Linked DNA regions of Homo sapiens: all the other regions are linked to region 1. Evidence: promoter capture Hi-C in 16 types of primary human blood cells and fetal thymus (Javierre and others, 2016). All regions are on one chromosome and are shown on one strand. Each heading gives the region's core, a stretch centred on a gene start or on the middle of the fragment in contact. The rest is flanking DNA. Distances are from core to core; before and after follow the strand shown.

What was found. The method cuts DNA at HindIII sites, captures the fragments that hold promoters and counts their contacts. A CHiCAGO score of 5 or more calls a contact.
Region 2: a contact is called between a fragment that was not itself captured here and the fragment with the promoter of TACO1 in region 1, in 1 of 17 cell types (endothelial precursors). The highest score is 9.5, in endothelial precursors.
Region 3: a contact is called between a fragment that was not itself captured here and the fragment with the promoter of TACO1 in region 1, in 1 of 17 cell types (non-activated CD4 T cells). The highest score is 5.0, in non-activated CD4 T cells.

What each region holds. Positions count from the first base shown.
Region 1 is chr17:63,597,982-63,602,767 of GRCh38, forward strand. TACO1 (translational activator of cytochrome c oxidase I) reads left to right here and starts at 2,914. Exons shown (of 5, transcript NM_016360.4): 1 at 2,914-3,382. The coding sequence starts at 3,103. The HindIII fragment of the contact is 11,259 bases long and covers 2,258-4,786 here.
Region 2 is chr17:63,488,399-63,493,184 of GRCh38, forward strand. It overlaps ACE (angiotensin I converting enzyme), which reads left to right. Exons shown (of 25, transcript NM_000789.4): 16 at 250-393; 17 at 543-734; 18 at 2,556-2,653; 19 at 2,811-2,983. Among named protein-coding and RNA genes, the nearest start is that of ACE, 14 kb to the left of the region's middle. The HindIII fragment of the contact is 621 bases long and covers 1,795-2,415 here.
Region 3 is chr17:63,712,658-63,717,443 of GRCh38, forward strand. It overlaps STRADA (STE20 related adaptor alpha), which reads right to left. Exons shown (of 13, transcript NM_001003787.4): 5 at 1,349-1,451; 6 at 749-870. Among named protein-coding and RNA genes, the nearest start is that of LIMD2, 15 kb to the left of the region's middle. The HindIII fragment of the contact is 2,532 bases long and covers 779-3,310 here.

The sequences.
Region 1 (4,786 bases), core at 1,664-4,163:
CTCAAACCTTGTTTTAGCCTCTACACTTATTTGTGATTACAAATTCCATTAATTTGATTTTTGCTTCTCAAAGTAAATATTACATATATATTTTTTTCTTTTTTTTTGAGATGGAGTCTCGCTCTGTCACCAAGGCTCAAGTGCAGTGGCGCGATCTCGGCTCACTGCAACCTCCGCCTCCTGGGTTCAAGCGATTCTCCTGCCTCAGCCTCCTGAGTAGCTGGGACTACAGGCGCGTGCCACCACACCTAGCTAATTTTTTGTATTATTAGTAGAGACGGGGTTTCACCGTGTTAGCCAAGATGGTCTCGATCTCCTGACCTCATTATCTGCCCCAAATCGGCCTTCCAAAGTGCTGGGATTACAGGTGTGAGCCACCATGCCTGGCCTGAATAAACTATTTTTAAATTGCAAAAAGTAATACTATATATGAATGGCTGATAAGCACATGAAAAGATGCTTACCATTAGTAGTCATTCAGGAAATACAATCAAAACCACAATGAGATAATACTTCTCACCCACAAGGATGGTGATAACTATAGTCAAAAAGAATAACAAATTTAGCCAGTGGCTCACACCTGTAATCTCATCTACTTGGGAGACTGAGATGGGAAGATCACTTGAGCCCAGGAGTTCTATGCTGCAGTCAGCTATGATTGCTCCACTGGACTCTAGCCTGGGTAACAAAGCAAAAAAAAAAAAAAAAAATTCATGATATGGAGAAATTAAACCCTCATATATTGCTGGTGGGAATGTAAAATGATACAACCACTTTAGAAGACAGTCTGGCAATCCCACAAAAGGTTAAACATAGTTATGATATGACCCAGCAATTCCACTCCTAGGTATATAACTAAAAGAAGTGAAAACATAGGTCCACACAGCAATGTGTACATGAATGTTCACAGCCTCATTATTCATCATAGAAGGTGGAAACAACCACATGTCCATTGCCTGATGAACAGATAAATAAAACGTGGTATATTCATACAATGGAATATTATTTGGCAATAGAAATGAAATACTGATACATGCTACAACATGCAAGAATCCTGAAAACATCATGCTAAGTGAAAGAAGCCAGTTACCAAAGGCCACATAGTGTGTGGGCCCATTCATATTAAATGTCCAGAAGAGGCAAACCCACAGAGACAGAAGTAAATTGGTGATTGCCTAGGGCTGTGGGAATTGGGGGGAAATAGGGAATGATTGCTAATGGGTACAGGACTTCTTTTGGGGATGATGAAAATGTAAAATCAATTGTGCACAGCTCTGAATATTCTATAACACATTGTACACTTTGAATTGGTGATCTGTGTGATCTGTGAAATATGTCAAAACTTAATTTTTTAAAAAATGAGAACTGTGTTGGGCATAGGAAGTACAGTCCTACTCTCAGAGAATTTAGTATTACGGTAGAAACAGATATAAACATTTTGATATTTTTTTAAAAGGTAAGTGCTAAGGTGCAAGCATGTATGAAGGGCTATGGGCACCCACCGCACCTGGCTAATTTTTGTATTTTTAGTAGAGACGGGGTTTCACCATGTTGACCAGGCTGGTCTTGAACTCCTGACCTCAAGTGATCTGCCAGCCTCGGCCTCCCAAAGTGCTAGGATTACAGGCGTGAGCCACCGCACCCAGCCCCATGGAGGTTCTTATATAATAAAAAATAAAAAATCTATGCTTTTGTGCTTTGCATCCATTATCCCATTTAGTCCTCACAAGGCCATTCTATGGTAAGGAAACTGAAACAGGAAAGTAAAGGAACTTGCCCAAGGATACACTAGAAAATGGAACAACCAGGGTTTGAAGCCACCCAGTCTAACTGCAGAGGGCACAAACTTGGACTTCACACTGTCCTGCTTCTCTCTCTCTCTCTCTCTCTTTTTTTTTTTTTTTTTTGAGTTGGATTCTCGCTCTGTCGCACAGGCTGGAGTGCAGTGGCGCGATCTCGGCTCACTGCAACCTCCTCTTCCCGGGTTCAAGCGATTCTCCTGCCTCATCCTTCTGAGTAGCTGGCATTACAGGCGCGCGCCACCACGGCCGGCTAATTTTTTTGTATTTTTAGTAGAGACGGGGTTTCACCATGTTGGTCAGACTGGTCTGGCACTCCTGACCTAGCGATCCGTCTGCCTCAGCCTCCCAAAGTGCTGGGATTACAGGCGTGAGCCACCGCGCCCGGCTGTCCTGCTTCTCTACCTGATATGTCATGCCCTTTGGACTTAATCTCACCAGCATGGGAGTCACTACAAAGCTTTTCAGCAGCTGCCGCTTTGTTTCTCTCCATCTTCTAACGGATTCGGTTTTCTCTTTCGAGACAGCAGAGAGAAAATGAAGAGGGGAGTTTAGCTCCAAAGGGCTTGTCTGATCATTCTCCCTCTCCCAAAGGCCTGTGACTCATCTGAGTCTGTCCCAAACCATCTCTTGCATCTAGGGGCTTAAGTGCACTGTGGCTATTTACATAAAACTTTATTACTTTAAAGCTCTAAGGGCTCATTTTGTGTTTCTAACTTTCCTATGTTGATAAAGCAAATATTAGATCCTTATTTATAAATAGGGAAGACGTTCAGAGAGATTAAACATTTGGGCAATTCACTTCTCTGGCAGCAGTTTCTTTCCCAGTACAATGAGGCAACAACAAAATATCATTCTGGACTTGCTCAGATTTAGGCAGCAATTTGGAAGCAAAGTCAGTTTCATAACTCAGATGTGTCTCCACTAAAACATTATGAGAAACAAAGTCCGGCGCTCTCTAGGCAACCGTGAGGGCTTGAGCACTAACTAGATCTGCTCAAGGGCAAGAGAGGAGCGAGTACCGTGCAGCCACGGAACGGACTTTGCGGGCAGTGGGGACGTGTTTTTGGAGCGAACCCGGTAAAGGAAGTGTGCTACGCCATCAAGGGCCCCCAGTCCCGGGTGCCGCGGGGACAGTGTAGGGTCATTAGCTGTTGAGCCGCCCCGGGCGGGCCCAAGCCTTTGGATCTCAGGTGACCGGCACAGGCGGCCGCGGGGTCCGGAACTGCTTGTTCCGGCAGTGGAAGAGACGCGCCGGCGTTGGCCGCTGCTGCTAGCAGCTTGAACCCCAGGGTCGGGACCGATGTCGGCTTGGGCTGCTGCCAGCCTAAGCAGGGCCGCTGCCCGATGCTTGCTGGCACGAGGCCCCGGGGTCAGGGCGGCTCCTCCGCGCGACCCCCGGCCCTCCCACCCCGAGCCCCGGGGCTGCGGTGCCGCTCCGGGCAGGACGCTGCACTTTACCGCGGCTGTCCCCGCCGGGCACAACAAGTGGTCCAAAGTCAGGCACATCAAGGGTCCGAAGGACGTCGAAAGGAGTCGCATCTTCTCCAAACTCTGTTTGAACATCCGCCTGGCAGTGAAAGGTGAGACCCTGACGGTCACCCAGCACTGGCTGCCGCTGCCCTCTCAGTGCCCGCAGCCTCGCTTGCCTCTCGGAATTGGGCCCACCTAGATCTCCGGCCCTTCACTTTGTTTTCCTTCCCCAGTACCCACCATTGCCCACCTCATAAATCCTCAAAACACCTACCCTACGTTGGAGGTTCTCACTCACTTTTCCAGACGCTGAGCATCTGGCCAGTTTGTCAGAGAGGGAGCTGCTCTTAAGAAGATAAGCCGGTAAGGTAGAAGTGACTTCATCCTAATCTAGCTGGGTACTTAATAGAAACAAGCCCTAAGAGTCAGGGCAGATGTGTGTCTCTCCTGAAGAGACAAATCAACCCCTCTGAAGTCGCCTCAAGTACCTTATTGGTTGTGGCAGGGGCACTGAGTAAAGCTATTACTTAAGTGCTTAGGCCTTAGCTTAGGCCTTAGTTTGCTTCATTAATGTTTCCCCAAGACACATTTCCTTGGAAGGTAGATTTGCAGCCATGTCTTTTCTCCCTTAGGTCGCCACACTGAAAAGGCTTTTTTTCTGTTTAGGGCCAGACATCTGTAGGAGCAAAGGAAAAGTCCTGTAGAAAGCATGGACTTTGGACTGGGCGCAGTGGCACAGCCTGTAATCCCAGGCCAGAGGCAGGCAGATCACTTGAGGTCAGGAGTTCAGGACTAGCCTGGCCAACATGGGGAAACCCTGTGTCTACTAAAAATAACAAAAAAAAAAAAAAAAAAAAACAGCTGGGCATGGTGGTGCATGCCTGTAATGCTGGCTACTCGGGAGGCTGAAGCAGGAGAATTGCTTGAACCCAGGAGTTGAAGGCTGCAGTAAGCGAGATTGCTCTACTGTACTCCATCCAGCCTGGGTGACAGAGCAAGACTCCATCTCAAAAAAAAAAAAAAAAAAAGAGAGAGAAACTGTGGACTTTGGAGTCAGGAAGACTGGTTTCTGTCACTGACTAACCTTGAACAAGTAGCTTAACTTGAGTTTCTCTGAAACAAGGATAATACCCACCTTGAGGTAGTTTATGGTTTATGGCACATCATAGGCATTCAGTTAATGTTAATTTACCCCCTCAGCTCATGCCTGGTATTTGTTTGCTTCCTTTTCTTCAAAATTCTTGATATTAAGTTCAAGCAACTTTTATTTATTTATTTATTTATTTATTTTGAGACAGAGTCTCACTCTGTCACCCAGGGTAGAGTGCAGTGGCGTGATCTTGGCCCATTGCAACCTCCACCTCCCAGGCTCAAGTGATTCTCCTGCTTTAGCCTCCGGAGTAGCTGGGACTACAAGTGTGCACCACCATGCCTGGCTAAATTTTTTTGTATTTTTAATAGAGACAGGGTTTCACCATGTTGGCCAGGCTGGTCTCGAACTCCTGACCTCAAAT
Region 2 (4,786 bases), core at 855-3,354, 110 kb before region 1:
AAGCACGCCCCTCACAGGACTGCTGAGGCCCTGCAGGTGTCTGCAGCATGTGGCCCCAGGCCGGGGACTCTGTAAGCCACTGCTGGAGAGCCACTCCCATCCTTTCTCCCATTTCTCTAGACCTGCTGCCTATACAGTCACTTTTATGTGGTTTCGCCAATTTTATTCCAGCTCTGAAATTCTCTGAGCTCCCCTTACAAGCAGAGGTGAGCTAAGGGCTGGAGCTCAAGGCATTCAAACCCCTACCAGATCTGACGAATGTGATGGCCACGTCCCGGAAATATGAAGACCTGTTATGGGCATGGGAGGGCTGGCGAGACAAGGCGGGGAGAGCCATCCTCCAGTTTTACCCGAAATACGTGGAACTCATCAACCAGGCTGCCCGGCTCAATGGTGAGTCCCTGCTGCCAACATCACTGGCACTTGGGTCCCTTCATTTTCCTCAAAGAGGTGCTGTGAAACCCCAAGCCTAGGAAAAGGTAGATCCCTGGAGGAGGCAGGTAATGTGGTGTTGGGAGAGCCTGGCTGTGTCCCCTCTGTAGGCTATGTAGATGCAGGGGACTCGTGGAGGTCTATGTACGAGACACCATCCCTGGAGCAAGACCTGGAGCGGCTCTTCCAGGAGCTGCAGCCACTCTACCTCAACCTGCATGCCTACGTGCGCCGGGCCCTGCACCGTCACTACGGGGCCCAGCACATCAACCTGGAGGGGCCCATTCCTGCTCACCTGCTGGGTAAGGGCACATGTCGGGCCTTGAGGAGGGTAAAGACGGACCACAGTGTGAGTGAGGGTTGGGACAGGGCTGACTAGAGGGTAGGGAGCAGGCTGGGGACTGAGAGACTCCAGCCCTGTGGGGGATGGTTGCCCAGGCTGGAGGGGGGTGGGCGCTGGGAGTGGGGAGCCCCCCACTTGCATCTGGTGCCACATTCACTGCAGATCTATGTCGGGCAAGTCACCATGGATGGGGGAAGAAGTTAATAATCTTGTCCAGGAGACCACGGCACCCATCACAACATTGTGTGATCTTAGAGGGCGAGGAAGAGGCTGTGAGTGGGAGCTGGGGAGGCTTTGCCAAGAGGTGGCCTGTGAGCAGGGCCTCGGAAGATGACAGGGTTTGACAGATGGGAAGTGGGGGATGAGAGGACAGACGCAGTGTTCAGGCCAAGGGAACTGGAACAAAGAAGAACCTGAGAATGTAAATCTACTTCAACCCTGGACCCTCCTTTGCCAAGGGCTGCAATCTCAGATGCCCTGAATGTGTGAAGTAGGCGGTGAGGACAGTAAGGGATGGTAGGGAGTAAGGCAAAGCAGAGGCTACTGGTTCTCTGTCCCTGATGGGCTGTTAGGAACACTTTCCTGGAGCAGAGAGACCAGACAGGCCCTCAGACCATTTAGAAACTATAAGGGAGGCCCCAGAGGACGGCCTGGCTGTGGGTCTAGCTCCCACACAGGCTGGGAGTCCAGCCCTCTTCAGCCCCTCTCTGGTGAGACCAAAGAACATCTGGTGATGTCACAGTGGACGTCAGTTCACCAACTGGGAGACACAGGCCCCGGGAAGAAAAGCAACATGCCCAGCGTGGCCTGGGAGCTGGGGCAGAGCTGGCCTTAGAACTCAGCCCCTGACAATTGGTAAAAGGGGAAAGGGGAGCAACCTAACACTGATGCGCTCTCTGTCTCTCTCTCTGGCTCTCTCCCTGGCTCTCTCCCTCTTCTCTCTCATGTTCTCTCCATCACTCATCGCTCTAACCCTCTCTCACTGGTTTGCACTTTAGACTTCATCTGATGTCAGCCGAAGCTTCACCTCACTTGGCTAGGAAAGAGCCTTGAGTCCAAATCTGTTTCTGAGCCTTCCATTCATCCTGAGTTTCTTCCTTTTCCTCTGTCGTGGAGAACTAGGCTCTTTTCTTACACTAAACTCAGAGGCATCAGCCTCTCCTGAAGGAGACGGCTGGTTCCTGTCAGAGTTGCTGAGCTGCAGACACCGACCTCAGGTGGTGCGGAGGGGACATGGCAGAGTGGCTGGTGAAGAGAGCAGCCTGCCAGCCTTTCAATCCCAGCCCTGCCACTTAGGAGCCGTGGGCCCCCGGCGAGGGGGGCGGTCACTTAACTCTCCAGCCTGTTTCCTTTACTAGCCAATGGGAATCGTGACAGTACCTGGGTGCAGACAGGATTGAAAGTGAATTCACACAATGTTCTTGGTGCAGAGCCAATAAGAGGTGGCCACCGGGGTGTAGGTGTTCTGGGGACCTGTAATGTCCTCACATGTCAGCAGTTGCTAGTCACATTGGTCTCCACTGCTCACGGACAGTGAAGACCACCTGGATTCCCTGATAACCAGCAAGGCCCCCACCTAGAGCCAGGCAGTAATGACCTACTGGGCTGGATATGCACACCAAAGATGATGTGTGCCTCAAAGCTTGCAAACAGTAGGTGCTCAAGAAATGCCACTATGATTAGCAGGACTGGGATCTGGAGCGCTCTTCCTGCAGGAGGGCATTGAGCCTAAGTAACATTTGTCTTTCCTCTCTCTGCCGTCCCCCACACTCGCCTCCAGGGAACATGTGGGCGCAGACCTGGTCCAACATCTATGACTTGGTGGTGCCCTTCCCTTCAGCCCCCTCGATGGACACCACAGAGGCTATGCTAAAGCAGGTCCGCACCAGCCCAGGGGCAGGGAGGCCCCGCCGGGATGGGAGGGACCCTCTGATTCAGGAGTTCCCTCCAGTTTAGCCCTCCCCCGGGATCCCCACGGCAGCACGCAGTCTGTCCCCGGAACCCCCAGTTTGGGCAGAACTCCCTCTGCTTGCAGGGCTGGACGCCCAGGAGGATGTTTAAGGAGGCTGATGATTTCTTCACCTCCCTGGGGCTGCTGCCCGTGCCTCCTGAGTTCTGGAACAAGTCGATGCTGGAGAAGCCAACCGACGGGCGGGAGGTGGTCTGCCACGCCTCGGCCTGGGACTTCTACAACGGCAAGGACTTCCGGTACATCCAGCTAGGGCTCAGGTCTCGTTCCTGAGCCCCACGGGCAAGGGAAATGAACCAAGCAAAGGGTCCACTACTGTCCCCCAGCTGGAGCCAGCAGGGCAGGATGGGGACAGGGCCAGAGTTTGGGACTGAGTGTCTAGAGAGGTGTTGGCTTCTGGCAGGAAAACCCCATCCGCCTGATGGGGACTTCTGAAGCACGCAACAGCTCTGTCAGCCTGGCCGCTGGGAAGTGCTCAAGGTCCCAGTCCTGGGTTTGAGCATGGTAGGCTGCCCCGCGTCCCTCCTTGGGAGCAGCCCCTGCATGGAGCTGGCCTCTCCCTGGGGGCACATGCTGTGACACAGGGAGGCACACGAGGATGTTGGGTGCTCTGTACAGATCCACTCTCACCCCTGACAGGCTCAGAAGCTGCCTTCCTTGGAGGATGGCGTTTTAGTTACCTATTGCTGTGCAACCAAGCACCCCAGAGCTTAGCCTTACGAAACAACCAGTTGATTTTGCTTATGATTTTATGTGCCAGGAATTCAGGCAGTACACAGTGGAAATGGCCTTTCTCTACAGGGCCCCCTCTGTTGGGGGCAGCTCTCACAGCCGGGATGGCTCAATGGGGGCCATACGTCCAGAGCCCCAGTTCTGGCTGTCGGTTGAGGTCCTCGGTTTTTCCCATGTGGCAGATGCTGGGGCACATGTTCCCAGTGGCCTCTTGGCTCACATGTTGGGTGCTTGGGGTGAGATGGCTGGAACGGCTGGAGGTGGGTCAGGCATCTCTCCAGGCTAGCTCGGGCGCCCTCCCAGCGTGGAATCTGAGGTGGGCAGATTTACCTGGCAGCCAGCATCCCCCACAGCAACTACTGACGCAGCCAGTTCTCAAGGCTAGGTCCAAAACTGGCCCAGAGTCACTTCTGCCATGTTTTATTGGCTAGAACAAGTCACAAGTTCACCCAGATTCAAGAGAAGAGAAAAAAGTCCCTCCCACTTGGGAGAAGTGGCAAAGACCATCTGTCACAGCTGAAGAAGTGTCTCTTACAAGGAGAACAGACACGGGGAGCCTGAAACAAAACCCGATGGGATTCCCTGGGCTGTGCAGGCCCTTCCAGGCATGAGGACTCAGCCACAGGGCTGAGAGGAGACAGGATCTGGGGGATGAGAGCCCTTGTGGGGTCTTCCCTTTTATGGGGAGTCAGAGGAGAAGCTGGATAGATCCCCAGCCTTGTGGCCAGGATGCTGGGCAGCTCTTCCTTCCCCCTCCCCGATGAGAATGACAGAAAAACAGGATTCACCTGAGCCAAAAGGCTTCCAGTTAGATCCAAGAGAGAATTTCCCGCAGTTTGAATTGGTTTGCTAAACAACAAGGAAGGGCTGGGTGCGGTGGCTCACACCTGTAATCTCAGCACTTTGGGAAGCCGAGGCAGGAGGTCTGCTTGAGCTCAGGGGTTCGAGACCATCCTGGGCAACATAGCGAGACCCCATTTCATAAAAAATAAATAAGTAAATGAGAACAAGGAAGGACTGACGAGAGACGGTAGAACCTTCTGGTTTGGGCAGCTCTGCAGCTGCCATTCATCCTGGCCATAAGAATTCTTGGGGTGAATAAGTTTGTCGCTGTTGGGCCGCATGAGATGCAGAATCGCCCACTCTCACCCCTGACAGAAACAGTTGTTTCCTTCAGGGAGCCTCCATCTTGGGAGATAAAGCATGTGTACATGGGAACCCACTGGCCACACATTCTCTAGAAAGTACACAATGTCCCAGTGCCTCTAGAGCAAGCACTTTGTACAGTCAGAAAGCAACAGGTGGTGGGG
Region 3 (4,786 bases), core at 795-3,294, 110 kb after region 1:
TGGTCCTGCCACTGTACTCCAGCCAGGGCAATAAAATGAGACCCTGTCTCGAAAAAAAAGAGGCCAGATGCGGTGGCTCACATTTGTAATCACAGCACTTTGGGAGACCAAGGCAGGCAGATCACCTGAAGTCAGGAGTTTGAGACCAGCCTGGCCAACATGAAGAAACCCCGTCTTTTCTAAAAATACAAAAGTTAGCCGGGCATGGTGGTGTGCGCCTATAGTCCCAGCTACTCGGGAGGCTAAGGCAGGAGAATCGCTTGAACCTGGGAGGTGGGGGTTGCAGTGAGCCGAGATCGTGCCACTGCACTCCAGCCTGGGTGACAGAGTGAGAATCCGTCTCAAAAAAAAAAAAAAAGAAAAGAAAAAGAAAGGAACATCAGGCAAACAGGAGGCTGAGAGCCAGAAGATGGCCACTGGTGGCAGGGCAGGCACCTTGTGTCTGGAACAAGATGGCCTGGGTTTGAATCCTGCCTCTGCCATGAGCAAGTTACTTAGCTTCTTTCTAAATAATAAATAAATGAATAAAAAAGCCAGAAGGGAGTGTTTGGAGAAGAAAAGGGAAATATAAATTAGGCTGAGCAGCATTTCAGCCCAATCCTTAGTGCCAAATGGCCAGGATTCTCCACTGAAAGCTTCCATAACTTCCGAACGTTTAGTCTCCCTTCATTTCTTTGTAATTCCTTGTAATTCCTATCAGAGCCAAGAGCCCACCCTCCCTCCATGTGACACACTCATGGTTTATTACCTGCAAGAATGTTACCATCTCATTGGAACAAGCTTCTAGGTTAATCCTCCGTACAGTCACGTACTCTCCTGTTGGTTTGTACCTTGCTAGATTCACAGTCATCAGGTCCTCAAATCCTTTGCCTAAAAGAAAAAGGGAATGCCATACGCAAGGACAAGAACAACAAAAGGTTTTAAGAAAATTTTCCTTTAAAAAAGGGACTTGATTTCAAAAGAAACTTAATGTTAAATTTTTCACTACTGTTACTTTTTTTTTTTTCCTTTTCCCAGCAGAATTTAACTGTTATGTTCATGGCTCACATTTCTTGATTTTTCTCTCATCAGTTCCTTCTCAGCCAACCTTTCTGACTCACTATGGCCAGGACACCGGAAACATGGCAGCCACAAAGGAAAGATGGCAAAAGAGCTTCTTTCCTGGAAGTTTGATCTCTTCCCATACTTGGCATAAAAAAACAGAGAAGACCCACAGAAGCAAGTCTGTGCCCATGAATCCTCCTAACTAGTGGATGGCCTCTGCTGTACACACATCTGGGGCTGCTGAGAAAGCTGCAGCAGCCCCTGGAGCAGAAAGCAGGAGAGTAAGGACGGCCCCTGCACATACCTATCACAGTGAGCAGCTCGTAACACCCTCCCTCTGGCAGAAAGCTACTCATGACCTCCTGTTTAGAGAAGGATGCTATTGACTCTGAGCTCGCATCATTGGTCTAAAAAAGAAAAAGAAAAATAGGTTAGTAGAGAAAACTGGGGGTGGGATGGGAGTGGGGTGAAGGTGGTAATTCAGACCCACGAGGAGACTGGCATCTAAACACACACACAAATCCCGACTCAGTGCCAGCACTATTTGAAGAGAAACAAAACACTACATTCAGGGTAGTAATCAGCACTAATATCAGAGCAAGTGTTAGGGTTGTCTACAAATGAGGAGACAAGGACCTGTTCCCATCAAATGTTAATCTGCTTGTCCTTTCCAACAATCAATGCATTTGCTAAAAGCTATGAAATTCTCACTTGGAGAAGGGATGTCTAGAGAATGAAAGCATGTTTGGAAAAGAGAAGCAGGTGGAGAGGTAGGGGTTCTCATGAATTTCCTGATGCATTAGGATCCTATTTTTAAGGTCCTCACCACAAGATCCCAAAAGGTCAAACGCTGAATCTTGCTCTAGGGAAAATGTGGCCAGGAGTAGCCCCCTCTTTAGCAAACCAAGAGCCCGGGCCAGTCATTGCCTGACATTTCCAAGTGAAGTGGGAGAACCCTGATGCCCTGAGCTGCAGGCAAGGCACAGAGCTGTCAGGTCTCAGGCATCGTCCAGGCAGCTGACATGGCCTGCTCCCTCGTTCCTGCCCACGTGTGCTGTGAGTGAAGCTGGAGTCCAGCCACTTAGGATGTGTCACAACTCTGGCCTCTAAGGTCCTAGAGGAAGGTGTCCAGCCATGTCTGAGTTTGTGCAAAACACACGGCAGACCAACAGCTCTTCTTTCAGCTTAATGGACTGTTTCCTTCTTCCACACCTAAATTTATGTGTATGATTTAGGGACTGTGACTGCTTTTCTTTTAGATTCTCTTTCTTTAGATGCACATCTAACTGAAATGGAGAAACCTGGGCCAGCTCATGTTTCATGTGCTGCACTCATAAACCTGACCTCCAGGCAGAAAAAGTCCTTTGTGAAAGTATGAGAGGCTCCTGACCCAGCACTACCCAGAAGAGCACGAGCTGAGAGTGTTCTGAAAAGGCGGTGCTTGAACAACTCTTTGGGAAGCGGCTCTGCAGAGGAAACCATAAAGATGACGGTGCTCTATACCTGTAAGATGACCAGAGTATACTTTCCAGAGCACTTCCAAATTGCACATGATTCCTCCATAGCTCAGTCAAGTAGCCGGGACAGATCTTATCTCCACTTTTCACTAACAAAAACGAGGGCCAAGGAGATTATGTGACTTGCCAAAAATCAAAACGTGAGTACATGGCACAGGACCCAGGCCCAAACCAGTGAGATTAATCTACCACCCTGTTGGCTGACGTTTCACGTGTATCTGGTTTGTTTGTTGTTTTGTTGCTGTTGTTTTTAAGATATGGGTTATCTCTTTGTCGCTCAGGCTAAAGTGCAGTGGTGAGTTCCTGGCTCACCGTGGCCTCGAACTCCTGGGCTCAATTGATCCTCCTGCCTCAGCCTCCCAAGTAGCTGAGATTATTGGCAGGAGCTGAGATTATTGGCTGTATGTGGTTTCAAAACAGTTGATGCTGCTGATGGGGAAAGAAACCCTCAAGTGGGCTCTGTCTCCCTCACCACTTACCCTGGCAATAAGAGGAACCTAGTCAAGCAAAATTAAGCCCTGTCACCAAATTCCATTTCTAATTTAATCAATTTTTAAATTTCTAAGATTTGGCCATATTGTTGTATTTCACTGTAGTTCGCCCATTTTCACTGCTGTATCATATATTCAGCACATGAATATATCTCAGTTTATCCAATTCCAACTTTGATGGCTCATTTGGGTTGTTTTTCAGTTCTGCTATTATGGACTGTGCTACTATAAACATGTTTGAATATGTATCCTGACTAAAGCTTGTAATTAGGAGTGGCTGGAATTGCTAGTGACAGAGCATATGAACAATCAACTGTTTGAGACAATGCCAAATTATTTTCCAAAATGGTTATACCAATTTACACTCCCACCAGCAACGTACGTGGTTTTTTTTTTTTTTTTTTTTAGACGGAGTCTCACTCTGTCACCAGGCTGGAGTGCAGTGGCACGATCTTGGCTCAATGCAAGCTCCGCCTCCTGGGTCCAAGCAATTCTCCTGCCTCAGCCTCCCAGGTAGCTGGGACTATAGGTGTGAGCCACCATGCCTGGCTAAGTTTTGTATTTTTTTGTAGAGATGGGGTTTTGCCATGTTGCCCAGCTGGTCTTGAACTCCTGACCTCAAGTGACCCACCCAGCTTGGCCTCCCAAAGTGCTAACATTACAGGCATGAGCCACTGTGCCCGGCCACATGTGTTCTTATTAATTTATCTTTTCCCCAACACTTGGTATTTTCAGATTTCTTAATTTTTGCCAGTCTCATGGATTTGATTTACATTTCCCTGATTACTAATGAAGATGAGGATCTTTTCATATATTTATCAGTCATGTGAGCGTTCTCCAAGGTGAAAATGCCTCTTCCTGTCTCTTGACCATTTTCCTGTTGTTTCAGTGCAGGATTTCCCCAAAGTAGGCCCCACGGAACTCTGATTCTGCCAGTTGGATGGAAAAAGTTTCCATGTCCAGTGAAGTTAGGAAATGCAGCACACTCTCTCATGGAGGATCACAAGGTGTACGTCCATATTAAAGGCACTGAGAAATTCTGTAGTAAGAAAACTTACTGTGTTTAACCCAGCATTTCCCAAAGAGATCTGTCTAGGGAACCTTTTGTGCCTAACATCTGTTAAATTTTGGGAAAGATAATTGGGAAAGGCTGTTTTAAATAAAACATATGCTACAATGCAAAGAGCATAGGCTTATGGGCCACATAGAGGCAGAATTTGAACTCAGGTCTATTACTGGTTCTGTGACCCTGGGCAAGTCACTCTGATCTCTTGGGATCTCCATTATATCAGCAGCTGAATAATTTCCATCTCATAGTGTTGTATCTATTAGATGAGATAAAATATGTTAAGAGCTTAGTGCTACCTGGTGTATAAAAGACATTCAATACATGTGAATCCTATTCTCCTCCTCCTTCTATTGCTCTCTACTTTTTGGTGACTCTCCTGTTGAACAAATAAAATGGAAAAGAGAAAATGGAGGAAACAGAATCCTAAGCAGAGCTTGATCAGTAAAGTTGATTTGATACTGGTTTTTATACTTATCTGTGTTTTCTAATGCTCTCAAAATAAATTCTAGGATCATTAAATTTTATTTTATTTTATTTATTTATTTTTGAGACGGAGTCTCACTTTGTCACCCAGGCTGGAGTGCAATGGCGTGATCTCAGCTCACTATAGCCTCTGCCTTTTGGGTTTAAACGATTCTCCTGCCTCAGCCTTATAAGTAGCTGGG